Regions from separate parts of the Homo sapiens genome. Here region 2 is linked to region 1. Evidence: promoter capture Hi-C in human tissues and cell types (Jung and others, 2019). All regions are on one chromosome and are shown on one strand. The core of a region is centred on a gene start or on the middle of the fragment in contact, and the rest is flanking DNA. Distances in the headings are between cores, read along the strand shown.

Evidence for each region. Contacts are between HindIII fragments. The study calls those that stand out against the background at their distance.
Region 2: a contact is called between the fragment with the promoter of IFI30 here and the fragment with the promoter of INSL3 in region 1, in 1 of the 25 tissues and cell types used here (stomach).

What each region holds. Positions count from the first base shown.
Region 1 is chr19:17,820,269-17,824,275 of GRCh38, forward strand. INSL3 (insulin like 3) reads right to left here and starts at 1,251. Exons shown (of 2, transcript NM_005543.4): 1 at 1,049-1,251. The coding sequence starts at 1,238. The HindIII fragment of the contact is 21,957 bases long and covers 1-4,007 here.
Region 2 is chr19:18,170,749-18,177,299 of GRCh38, forward strand. IFI30 (IFI30 lysosomal thiol reductase) reads left to right here and starts at 3,065. Exons shown (of 7, transcript NM_006332.5): 1 at 3,065-3,225; 2 at 4,292-4,474; 3 at 4,563-4,637; 4 at 4,857-4,949; 5 at 6,392-6,544. The coding sequence starts at 3,094. RefSeq lists enhancers at 163-382, 3,430-3,499, 3,627-4,292 and a silencer at 2,810-3,119. The HindIII fragment of the contact is 16,563 bases long and covers 1-6,551 here.

The sequences.
Region 1 (4,007 bases), core at 1-2,500:
GCGAGGCTATGTCTCAAAATAAATAAATAAAAATAAAATAATAAAATAAAGTAACATAATTGTGAAAAGCAATACTTTTCAAAAGCAATACTTTTAAATACTTTTAAAGCTGGACACAGTGACTCACATCGCTAATCCCAACACTTTGGAAGGTCAAGGTGGGAGGATTACTTGAGCTCAGGAGTTTGAGACCAGCCTGGGAAACAGAGTGAGACTCCCTCTCTACGAAAAAGAAAAAAAAATTAGCTGGGTGTGGTGGCAGCACCTGTATCCCAGCCACTCCAGAGGCTGAGGCAGGAGGATGGTTTGAGCCCAGGAGGTTGAGCCTGCAGTGAGCCGAGATCTCACCACTGCACTCCAGCCTGGGCGTCAGAGTGAGACCCTGTCTCAAAAAACAAACAAACAAAGCAAAATTAAGGCAAAAATTCATGAAGATCAAAATATTGAAATTTTAAGACAGGATCTCACCATGTACTTGCAAGAGCCTACCTCTCCTGCCTCACTCTGTTTCTGGCCCCTCAGGGGGACTCATGCTCTGAGGACTTTCTTTTTTTTTTTTTTTTGAGACGGAGTTTCACTCTGTCGCCCAGGCTGGAGTGCAATGGCATGATATCGGCCCACTGCAACCTCTGCCTTCCGGGTTCAAGCGATTCTCCTGCCTTGGCCTCCCAAGTAGCTGGGATTACAGATGTGCATCATTATCCCCGGCTAATTTTTTTAAAAATTATTTTTAGTAGAGATGGGGTTTCACCATTTTGGCCAGGCTGGTCTCGAACTCCTGACCTCTGGGGATCCACCCGCCTCAGCCTCCCAAAGTGCTGGGATTGCAGGCGTGAGCCACCACGCCTGGCTAACGGCTCTGGGGACTTTCACACGCGCGTTCACACACACTCCAGTGCGGACCCACGATCTGTGCACGCAGCCGGCAGGTGAGCCCTGGGCACATGCATGCAAACCTGCCCACCTCCCTGCACGTGTGCATCTGCGCCTACGTGCACCTGCCCCACCTCGGCTTCCCAGAGCGCTGTCCCTGCCCGTCCCCACTCACGGTCGCCTCCGGTCGCAGGCCTCCTGGCTTCGGTGGACCAGCGGGGGCCCCCGCACACGCGCACTAGCGCGCGTACGAAGTGGTGGCCGCACAACTTCTCACGCATCTCTGGGGTGGGCGCGGGGCCCAACGCGAACACCAGGGCAGGGCCCAGCAGCACCAGCGCCCAGGCGGGCAGACGGGGGTCCATGGTGGTGGGTGGCGCCGGGGCCAAGCGGGGACCCCCTTTATAGGCGCCTGGGCCGTCCCAGCTGGGGGCCTTGGAGAAGGGACAGAACATTCTTCAGGACCGCCCAGGAAAAAGGTCAAGGGTGGGGTTAGTGCCAGAGCCTTTCTCCCAGGGCCAGGGCCTTGGATGTACTTCTCCCAGAGGGAGCACTGGGCAACGAGTCTTTCTTTTTTATTTTTTTCTTCTTTTTTTTTGAGATGGAGTCTCACTCTGTCACCCAGGTTGGAGTGCAGTGACTTGATCTCGGCTCACTGCAACTTCTGACACCCGGGTTCAAGCGATTCTCCTGCCTCAGCCTCCTGAGTAGCTGGGATTACAGGTGCGCACCACTATGCCTGGCTAATTTTTTTTTTTTTATTTTTTATTTTTAGTAGAGACTGGGGTTCGCCATGTTGGCCAGGCTGGTCTCCAACTCCTGACCTCAAGCGATCCATCTGCCTCGGCCTCCCAAAATGCTGGGATTACAGGCATGAGCTGTGCCTGGACTATTATTATTTTTATTATTATTATTGAGACAAAGTCTTGCTCTGTCTTCCAGGCTGGAGTGCAGTGATGCGATCTCGGCTCACTGCAACCTCCACCTCCTGGGTTCAAGTGATTCTCCCACCTCAGCCTCCCAAGTAGCTGGGATTACAGGTGTAAGCCACCACGCCCAGCCACCTATTTTTATTTTTTATTTTTGAGATGAGTTCTTGCTCTGTTACCCTGGCTGGAGTGCAGTGGCACGATATGGGCTCACTGCCACCTCCCTATCCCTGACTCAAGCAATTCTCCCACCTCAGCCTCCTGAGTAGCTGGGACTACAGGCCCACGCCACCACACCCGGCTAATTTTTTGTATTTTTTTTGTAGAGATGGGGTTTTGCCATGTTGCCCAGGCTGGTCTCAAACTCCTGGACTCAAGTCATCTTCCCGCCTCAGCCTCCCAAAGTCCTGGGATCACAGGCGAGAGCGACCACACCAGGGTATTTATTCATTTTTGACATAGGATCTCTCTGGGTTGGCCTGTAATGGCAGGATCATAGCTCACTGTAACCTCATTCCCCTGGGCTCAAGCGATCCTTCAGCCTCTGCCTCCTGAGTAGCTGGGACTACAGGCCTGCAATACAATGCCCAGCTAATTTTTAATTTTTTAATTTTTATTTTTATCTTTTTAGACAGAGTCTTACTCTGTCACCCAGGCTGGAGTACAGTGGTGCGATCTCGACTCACTGCAACCTTTGCTTCCTGGGTTCAAGCGATTCTCCTGCCTCAGCCTCCTGAGTAGCTGGGATTACAGGTGCCCACCACCAAGCCTGGCTAATTTTTGTATTTTTTAGCAGAGACGGGGTTTCACCATGTTGGCCAGGCTGATCTCAAACTCCTGACCTCAAGTGATCCACCCGCCTCGGCCTCCCAAAGTGCTGGGATTACAGGCGTGCACCAACGCGCCCGGCCATTTTTAATTTTTTAATTGTAGAGGCAGGGGTCTTGCTATGTTGCCCAGGCTCATCTAGAACTCAAGTGGTTCTCCCTACTCGGCCTTCCAAAATGCTGGGATTACAGGTGTGAGGCACCACACACGGCCAAGTCTTCGCTATTGTCTTAACCAGTTTAAAGAGATGAAATAGATCAACTGAAAAGTAATAATCCTGCCTTTTCTGGGGGGCAGGGGGGAAGACAGCGGGCATCTTCCAAGACCAGAAATGTTCAGAATTTTGTTGTTTCTATTACTGTACAAATGAGAAAACTGAGGCACACAGGCCAGGTGCAGTGGCTCATGCCTGTAATGCAAGCACTTTGGGAAGATGGGGCAGGTGGATCACTTGAGGTCAAGAGTTCGAGACCAGCCTGCCCAATATGGTGAAACTCTGTCTCTACTAAAAATACAAAAATTAGCCAGATGTGGTGGTGCATGCCTATAATCCCAGCTACTCGGGAGGCTGAGGCAGGAGAATCACTTGAACCCAGGAGGTGGAGATTGCAGTGAGCCGAGATGGTGCCGCTGCACACCAGCCTGGGGACAGAGACTCCGTCCCCTCACCAGACAAAAAGAAAGAAAAGAAAAGAAAAAAAGAAAACTGAGGCACAGAGAAAGGACCCCAAACTTGCCCAAGGTCACAGGAGGCTGAGCAGAGCCCAGGTCTTCTCAAGGCGCCTGACACGCAGGGCTGGGGGTGTCCCATCCGAAGCTCTGTCTCCCCAACACGGTTGTCCCCTCTGGGTGAGCAGGGGCTGGTGGACCCAGAATAGAGCAGGATTTATTTGTTCAGTGGATGCTTGGCCCCCGCTTCATGCCTAGGGGGTCTTATAGCTTTGTTTTTCCAAGGAGGGAATCTGAGGTTGAGAGAGGGAAGGATGCTTGACCCTAGGCAGGAGAGAACCTGGGCTGGAACTCGAGTCTTGCTTGACCCCAGAGCAGCTCCCTCCCTATTTCTACCAAATTAGGGGGCCCTCTGGGGCTAAGAGAGCAGGGACAGGGATCTCTCTCTCTCTCTCTCTCTGAGTCTCTCTCGGCCTTCATCTCTCAGTTTCCTTCTGTATGTCTGTCTCTGTCCGCATTTTTCTTTTTTTTGAAACGGAGTCGCTCTGTCGCCCAGGCTGGAGTGCAATGGCATGATCTCAGCTCACTGCAACCTCCACATCCCAGTTTCAAGCAATTCTTCTGTCTCAGCCTCCTGAGTAGCTGGGATTACAGGCATGTGCCAGAACACCAGGCTAATTTTTGTATTTTTAATAGAGACGGTTTCGC
Region 2 (6,551 bases), core at 1,815-4,314, 350 kb after region 1:
TCCCGACTGCTCAGGGGACCCCAGACCCCATCCAGCCCCTCAAGTGCTTCCAAGCTGCTTCCCCCGCCCACCGCCCCCAAATTTGAATCCTGTCGCAACCATCAGCTGTGTCCTTGGGAAAGTTGTATCCCCTCCCTGATCCACAGCTTCCTCATTCATTGCCAAGTGGCGTCAAAAGTCAAAACCCTCCCATGCCACAGGGAGGAGTCTCCCGTGTCTTTGATGTTCTCAAGTCGTCGGCACCTCCAGCCAGCATTGGAGGCTCTTCTCTGACCTCTCCTCACCCACTCCCATGCACAGCCCGCCGGGTCCCAGGAGACGCTGAGCAAAAGCCCTGTGGGGTTTTTTGTGTTTCTTTTTAAAGAGTCAAGGTCTCTCACTCTGTCACCCAGGCTGGAGTGCAGTTGTGCGAACACAGCTCGCGGCTCACAGCCTCAAGCTCCTGGTTCCCAGCCTCAAGCAGTCCTCTCATCTCAGCCTTTAGAGTCACTGGATTACGGGTGTGTGTCACCATGTCCAGCTAATTATTTTTAAATTTTTTTAGAAACAAGATCTTGCCGAGTGCAGTGGCTCACACCTGTAATTCCAGCACTTGGGGAAGCCAAGGCAGGCAGATCACTTGAGGTCAGGAGTTTGAGACCAGCCTGGCCAACATGGTAAAACCTGGTCTCCACTAAAAATACAAAAAAAAATTAGCCAGACATGGTGGCGCATGCCTGTAATCCCAGCTACTTGGGAGGCTGAGATAGGAAGATCAGATGAACCTGGGAGGTCAACGCTGCACCAAGCCAAGATCGTGCCACTGTTCTCCAGCCTGGGTGACAGAGTGAGACTCTGTCTCAAGAAAAAAAAAAAAAAAAAGGGTCTTGCCCTTTTCCAGGTGGGTCTCAAACTCCTGGCCTCTAGTGATCCTCCCACCTCAGCCTCCCTGAGTCGCGTAAGCCACCACGCGTGGCCTCATGGCGTCTTTGACTTGGACTCCTGTTTACCACCCTCCCCATCACACCCAGAATCCACACCCCCACTGCGACGTCATTGTCCCTTCAGCCCTCCCCAACCCTGGGGCCTCACTGTCCTTGTCTGTTTTGTACAGCCACCTCTCAAGGCCCAACAAGGCTGAACCTGGGGCAAGTGCAGAAAGAAACCTCCACTCTGACCCAGTCTACTGCTGGGACCTTGGGACAGGACCTGCCTCCCTTAGCCTCAGAGCCCCCTAGCCTTGCCAGGCACTGTCCCTGCCATGTGTCCTGTCTGGAGATAACCCATAAATAACTCCAGCCCAGATTGTGCCTCTCACTGCATAGGTGCTCACAGGAGAAAGGTTGCCATCTTTATGATCCCAGCTATGCTGAGCTGGGGGTGGAAGAGAATATCCCGTGTGGTCTCTAAAAACACTCAACCACTGGCTGTGTGTCCTTGGCAAAATAGCCTTCCCTCTCTGATCAGCCATTTATTTGTTACCAGCTGGAGTCAGTAGCACCTACCCCCAGCCCCAACTGGATGCTTCTGAGGGTTCAATGATAAAATGGGTTGTAGGCCCACTCTATGCCTGGCACCAAGCCAGAGAGCAATACATTGTAGGGTTACATTTATGATTTCTTCCAATAGGGCTGGTGCCTGGTAACTACTGGAAAAATTGTAGCAATTATATTTATGGTTATTTCTTCAATCCCACCCGGCATAGGGTAAGCACCAAAGTTGGGGTGGTGAGTCTTGGGGAGCCTTTGCCAACGGTTTGGTCGTCTGAGGGATGGGCTCGGGGACCATCCAGCCACTGGGACTTCAGAGAAGCTCCGGCTCCCAAACCAGCTACTGTGTGTGTGGCCAGGGTCTTCCCCACAACTAGAGGGGGGCACAGCTGGGGACTCAGGTATATCTTCCAGCTGGGTGTGGGACATTTTCTTCCCTAGGATCCGATGTGTCTTGCCCTGAATGTAAGGCCTGGCAGGGTTGGAATGTCTCAGTTATTCCCCCAACACTCCAGCCTCCATCTGGGCCTTTTTTCCAGGCTATTCTCTCTGCCTTCACTGTTGGGGCCACTGTCCTGTGTAGGCACCAAGGCCTGACCATGCCATCCAGAAGCCCCAGCCTGGGACAACTCTCCCCCACCTGCCTCTGAGCCCTCCATGGTGACTCTTGTTCCCCAAACCTTATCCTTCTCCCCATTACACAGAAGGGAAAGCTGAGGCTCTGTCACTCAAATCCAAAGCCAGGTGGACTCCAAGCCACCCCACCCCTATCCCAGACAGCACAGGCTGCCTCTCTCCCCCATGGGCGTCCCTTGAAGGCCAGGTTGCCCCCCACCCCCCACAAGCCTTGAACGATGAAAAGAAGGAAGGCCAGTTCTCTTCACCCCAAGCCAGAAGTGGGGCTGGGTGGGTACCCTAGAGAAATGACACGCCACTCCCTGCGCCAGCTTCTGCTTTCCGGCGTGGCTGTGGTCAAGCCTGAGTCAGTCCCACGGGACCACGGTGAGGGGTCTGGAGCGTCGGGGTCAGGAGTTTGAGGGGGGAAGGGTTGAGGGGCAGGATGTGGGGGTTGGGTGTGAGGGAGGTCACGGGCGAGACTGGAGGGAGGAGACCTGGCCACACAGGCCTTGCCCACTCTCGGGGGCCTGAATATTTCAGTTACTCCCCCAAAACCCCGGCCTCCATCCCATCCCCAGCCTCCATCCGACGTCACCCCTGTTAGGTCACAGGCCCACTCTGAGAGTGGGTCTCGGGCCTCAAGTCCCCTAGCCGCCCCTAGAAGGTCTAGGGGTGCGTGGAGACACCACCATTCCTCTCAGCCTGTGTCTGTCTCAAAGGCCCCACCTCACCTCCCCTAAAGGTAGTCTTGCGCCAGGGCTCACGTGCCTGGGCAGGGCTGATTGCCAAGGGGCCCAATGGCCTCGTGACTGGGGACCCAGCACCTGGCAGGGGTGGGGGTGGGACACTCAGAGGAAGGAGTGGAGGAGGGAGAGACGCTGGCCCGGGACCCGAGGGGCGTGGGCATCGGGAGGCGGGCCCGGGTTAGGGGCGGGACCGCCGCCTGGTTAAAGGCGCTTATTTCCCAGGCAGCCGCTGCAGTCGCCACACCTTTGCCCCTGCTGCGATGACCCTGTCGCCACTTCTGCTGTTCCTGCCACCGCTGCTGCTGCTGCTGGACGTCCCCACGGCGGCGGTGCAGGCGTCCCCTCTGCAAGCGTTAGACTTCTTTGGGAATGGGCCACCAGTTAACTACAAGGTAGGGACGGCGACAGGGCGGGCAGGCTGGAGGGAACAGGCGCCCTGTCGGGGCACGCGGCTCCTTCTTTCTCCCCAGACTTCACAGGGGAAGACCAGGGCCCCGAGGGGACGCTGTCCCTGCCGGGTTCCTGGAAAAACCCTGTTCAGTTCCCGGCGCTGCGGCCACACTCCCTCCGTGCCGTTTCGCTTTCGCATCCCGCATCTGAGAGGCGCAGCTGCCTCCACCCGCCTAGTCCCGCCCAAGGGTTCAATGAGCGCCTACTGTGTACTTTTGGGGCAGGAGCTGGGGTCTCCTTTTGTGGCCCAGGGCACAAGTTCAGCAGCTGGCCAAGGGCCGCCGGCATGCATTCTTGCTGCTACCCTTGATGCATTCATTCCAGCCAGGGCAGGGCTCGCGTGTCTTTGGGACCTATTAGGCAGATGCCCTAGAGGCTGAGCGACTTGCTCACCGCTCCAGCGACATGGGCCACCCGCCACCCCTCAGCTGAAGCCGGAAGTCAGCACCTATTAGGTGCCGCCTCTATTCAGTCGGACTTGGAAAGGGTTCACGTGGATCCCTTGCTCAGCTCAGAGGCAAGGTCTCCAGGTGAAGTGACAAGAAATGAGCATGGGCCAAGGCCGGAGGCGGTGGCTCATGCCTGTAATCCCAACACTTTGGAAGTCTGAGGCAGGCAGATCACGAGGTCAGGAGTTCGAGACCATTCTGGCCTACATGGAGAAACCCTGTCTCTACTAAAAATACAAAAATTAGCTGGGTGTGGTGGCATGTGCCTATAATCCCAGCTACTCAGGAGGCTGAGGCAGGACAATTGCTTGAACCAGGGAGTCGGGTGTTGCAGTGAGCCGAGATCGTGCCGCAGCACACCAGCCTAGCGACAGTGAGACTCCATCTCAAAAAAAAAAAAAAAAGTCTCAAAGTCAAGATTCCACCTGGCAAGTTCTGGAAGGCGTGCAAGATGAATTGCGTATCACAGCCCCCTTTCTACAAGACTACCAAGTGGGGTTGAGAGAAGTGGGGAACTGCCCAGGGCTACACCTGCCTCCCACGCCTTCCTAATCCACAGACAGGCAATCTATACCTGCGGGGGCCCCTGAAGAAGTCCAATGCACCGCTTGTCAATGTGACCCTCTACTATGAAGCACTGTGCGGTGGCTGCCGAGCCTTCCTGATCCGGGAGCTCTTCCCAACATGGCTGTTGGTCATGGAGATCCTCAATGTCACGCTGGTGCCCTACGGAAACGCACAGGTGTGTGGGCGCTGGGGAAACTGAGGCACGTGGGCAGGGGAGCAGGGGACCCAGCCTACCAGCAGGCTCTCACCCTGCTGCCTTGCAGGAACAAAATGTCAGTGGCAGGTGGGAGTTCAAGTGCCAGCATGGAGAAGAGGAGTGCAAATTCAACAAGGTGGAGGTGAGCGGCCCCAGGGCCCCACACTGGGGTGGGGGAAAACTGTCCCACGTACAGGAGGCAAATACGAGGATGCCAGCTCTGTCTTCTGCCTCGTGTGCTCCCATTTAATCACATCTTTATTCCCTATCTCCTGGGTGGGTACTGGTGATTATTACGAGAGGGTGTCAGGGTACCCTAGGCCCTCTTCATGCCCTCTCCTGCCCCCTCTCCAAACCCCAGGCCTGCGTGTTGGATGAACTTGACATGGAGCTAGCCTTCCTGACCATTGTCTGCATGGAAGAGTTTGAGGACATGGAGAGAAGTCTGCCACTAGTGAGTGACGCCCCTCACTCCACCCAAGGAGGGGGACATGGGTGGTAACCTTCCCTGCATCCAGGCAGACCCAAATTCAAGTCCTAGCCCTGACCACTGCTGTCTGTGCAGCCCAGGAAAACAACTACCCTTCTTTATTTTATTTATTTTTTTATTTTTTCTTGAGACAGAGTCTCGCTCTGTCGCCCAGGCTGGAATGCAGTGGCGCAATCCCAGCTCACTGCAACCTCCACCTCCAGGGTTCAAGTGATTCTCCAGCCTCAGCCTCCTGAGTAGCTGGGATTACAGTTGTGTGCCACCATGCCCAGCTAATTTTTGTGTTTTTAGTAGAGACAGGGTTTCACCATGTTGGTCAGGCTTGTCTTGAACTCCTGACCTTGTGATCCGCCTGCCTTGGCCTCCCAAAGTGCTGGGATTACAGGCGTGAGCCACCGCACCCAGCCCTTTTTTTTTTTTTTTTTTTTTTTTTTTTTTTGAGACAGGGTTTTGCTCTGTCGCCCAGGCTGGAGTGCAGTGGTGCAATCTTGGCTGACTGCAACCACTGTCTCCTCAGTTTAAGTGATCCTCCTGCCTCAGCTTCCCCAGTAGCTGGGACTACAGGTGTGCACCACCATGCCCGGCTAATTTTTGTATTTTTAGTAGAGACAGTGTTCACCATGTTGGCCAGGCTGGTCTCAAACTCCTGACCTCAAGTTATCCGCCTGTCCCAGCCTCCCAAAGGATTACAGGTGTAAGCCACCACGCCCGGCCCCAGCCTCCCCTCTTGAAGCCTCCATCTCTGAATCAGGGGAATGAATGCAGGTCTCTTAGGAGCATGAGTGATCACAGAGGACTTACTGGAGGAGGCATTTCTGAGCTGGGCATGGAAGGATGAGCAGGAATGTGCAGAGACACAGATGATGGGATGTGGAGATGATAGGACAGACCCCACCTACTTCCCCGGGGGATTGTGAAGAATGACTCCCAGAGAAGTGACTCATTGGCTCCAATCATTTATTCATTCATCAAACATCCGGGTCACCCAAGAGGCCTCACCTAGTGACACCCTAGTCCTGCAGGGTTAGATCAGGGCTGAGAGAGTGGCAAGGAGAGGGCACTGAGGAGACACTGTGGAAGGAGGATGAAGGGTGTTCCTGGCAGAGGGATCAGCCTGTGTGGAGGTCCTGAGTAAAGTGAGATACTATGGGGGTCAGAGGCAGTGGGTCTGGTCTTAGGGATGAAACCAAGGGAGCTAGGAGGCAGGAGCAGCCCAAGCCCTGCCTTAGGGGCCTCCACTCAAGCATGTATTGAGCACCTGCTGTTTGTGGGCTTTGTCGCATCACTGTGAAGCCAACTGTACCCTCTTCTCAGTGACGAAACAGGCTTGGCTCAGGGCTGGTGGGCGGGACCGTTGAGATAACGGGGAGGAAGCTGAGGCAACCCCCTGCTCCCCACCCACCCAGTGCCTGCAGCTCTACGCCCCAGGGCTGTCGCCAGACACTATCATGGAGTGTGCAATGGGGGACCGCGGCATGCAGCTCATGCACGCCAACGCCCAGCGGACAGATGCTCTCCAGCCACCACACGAGTATGTGCCCTGGGTCACCGTCAATGGGGTAAGAA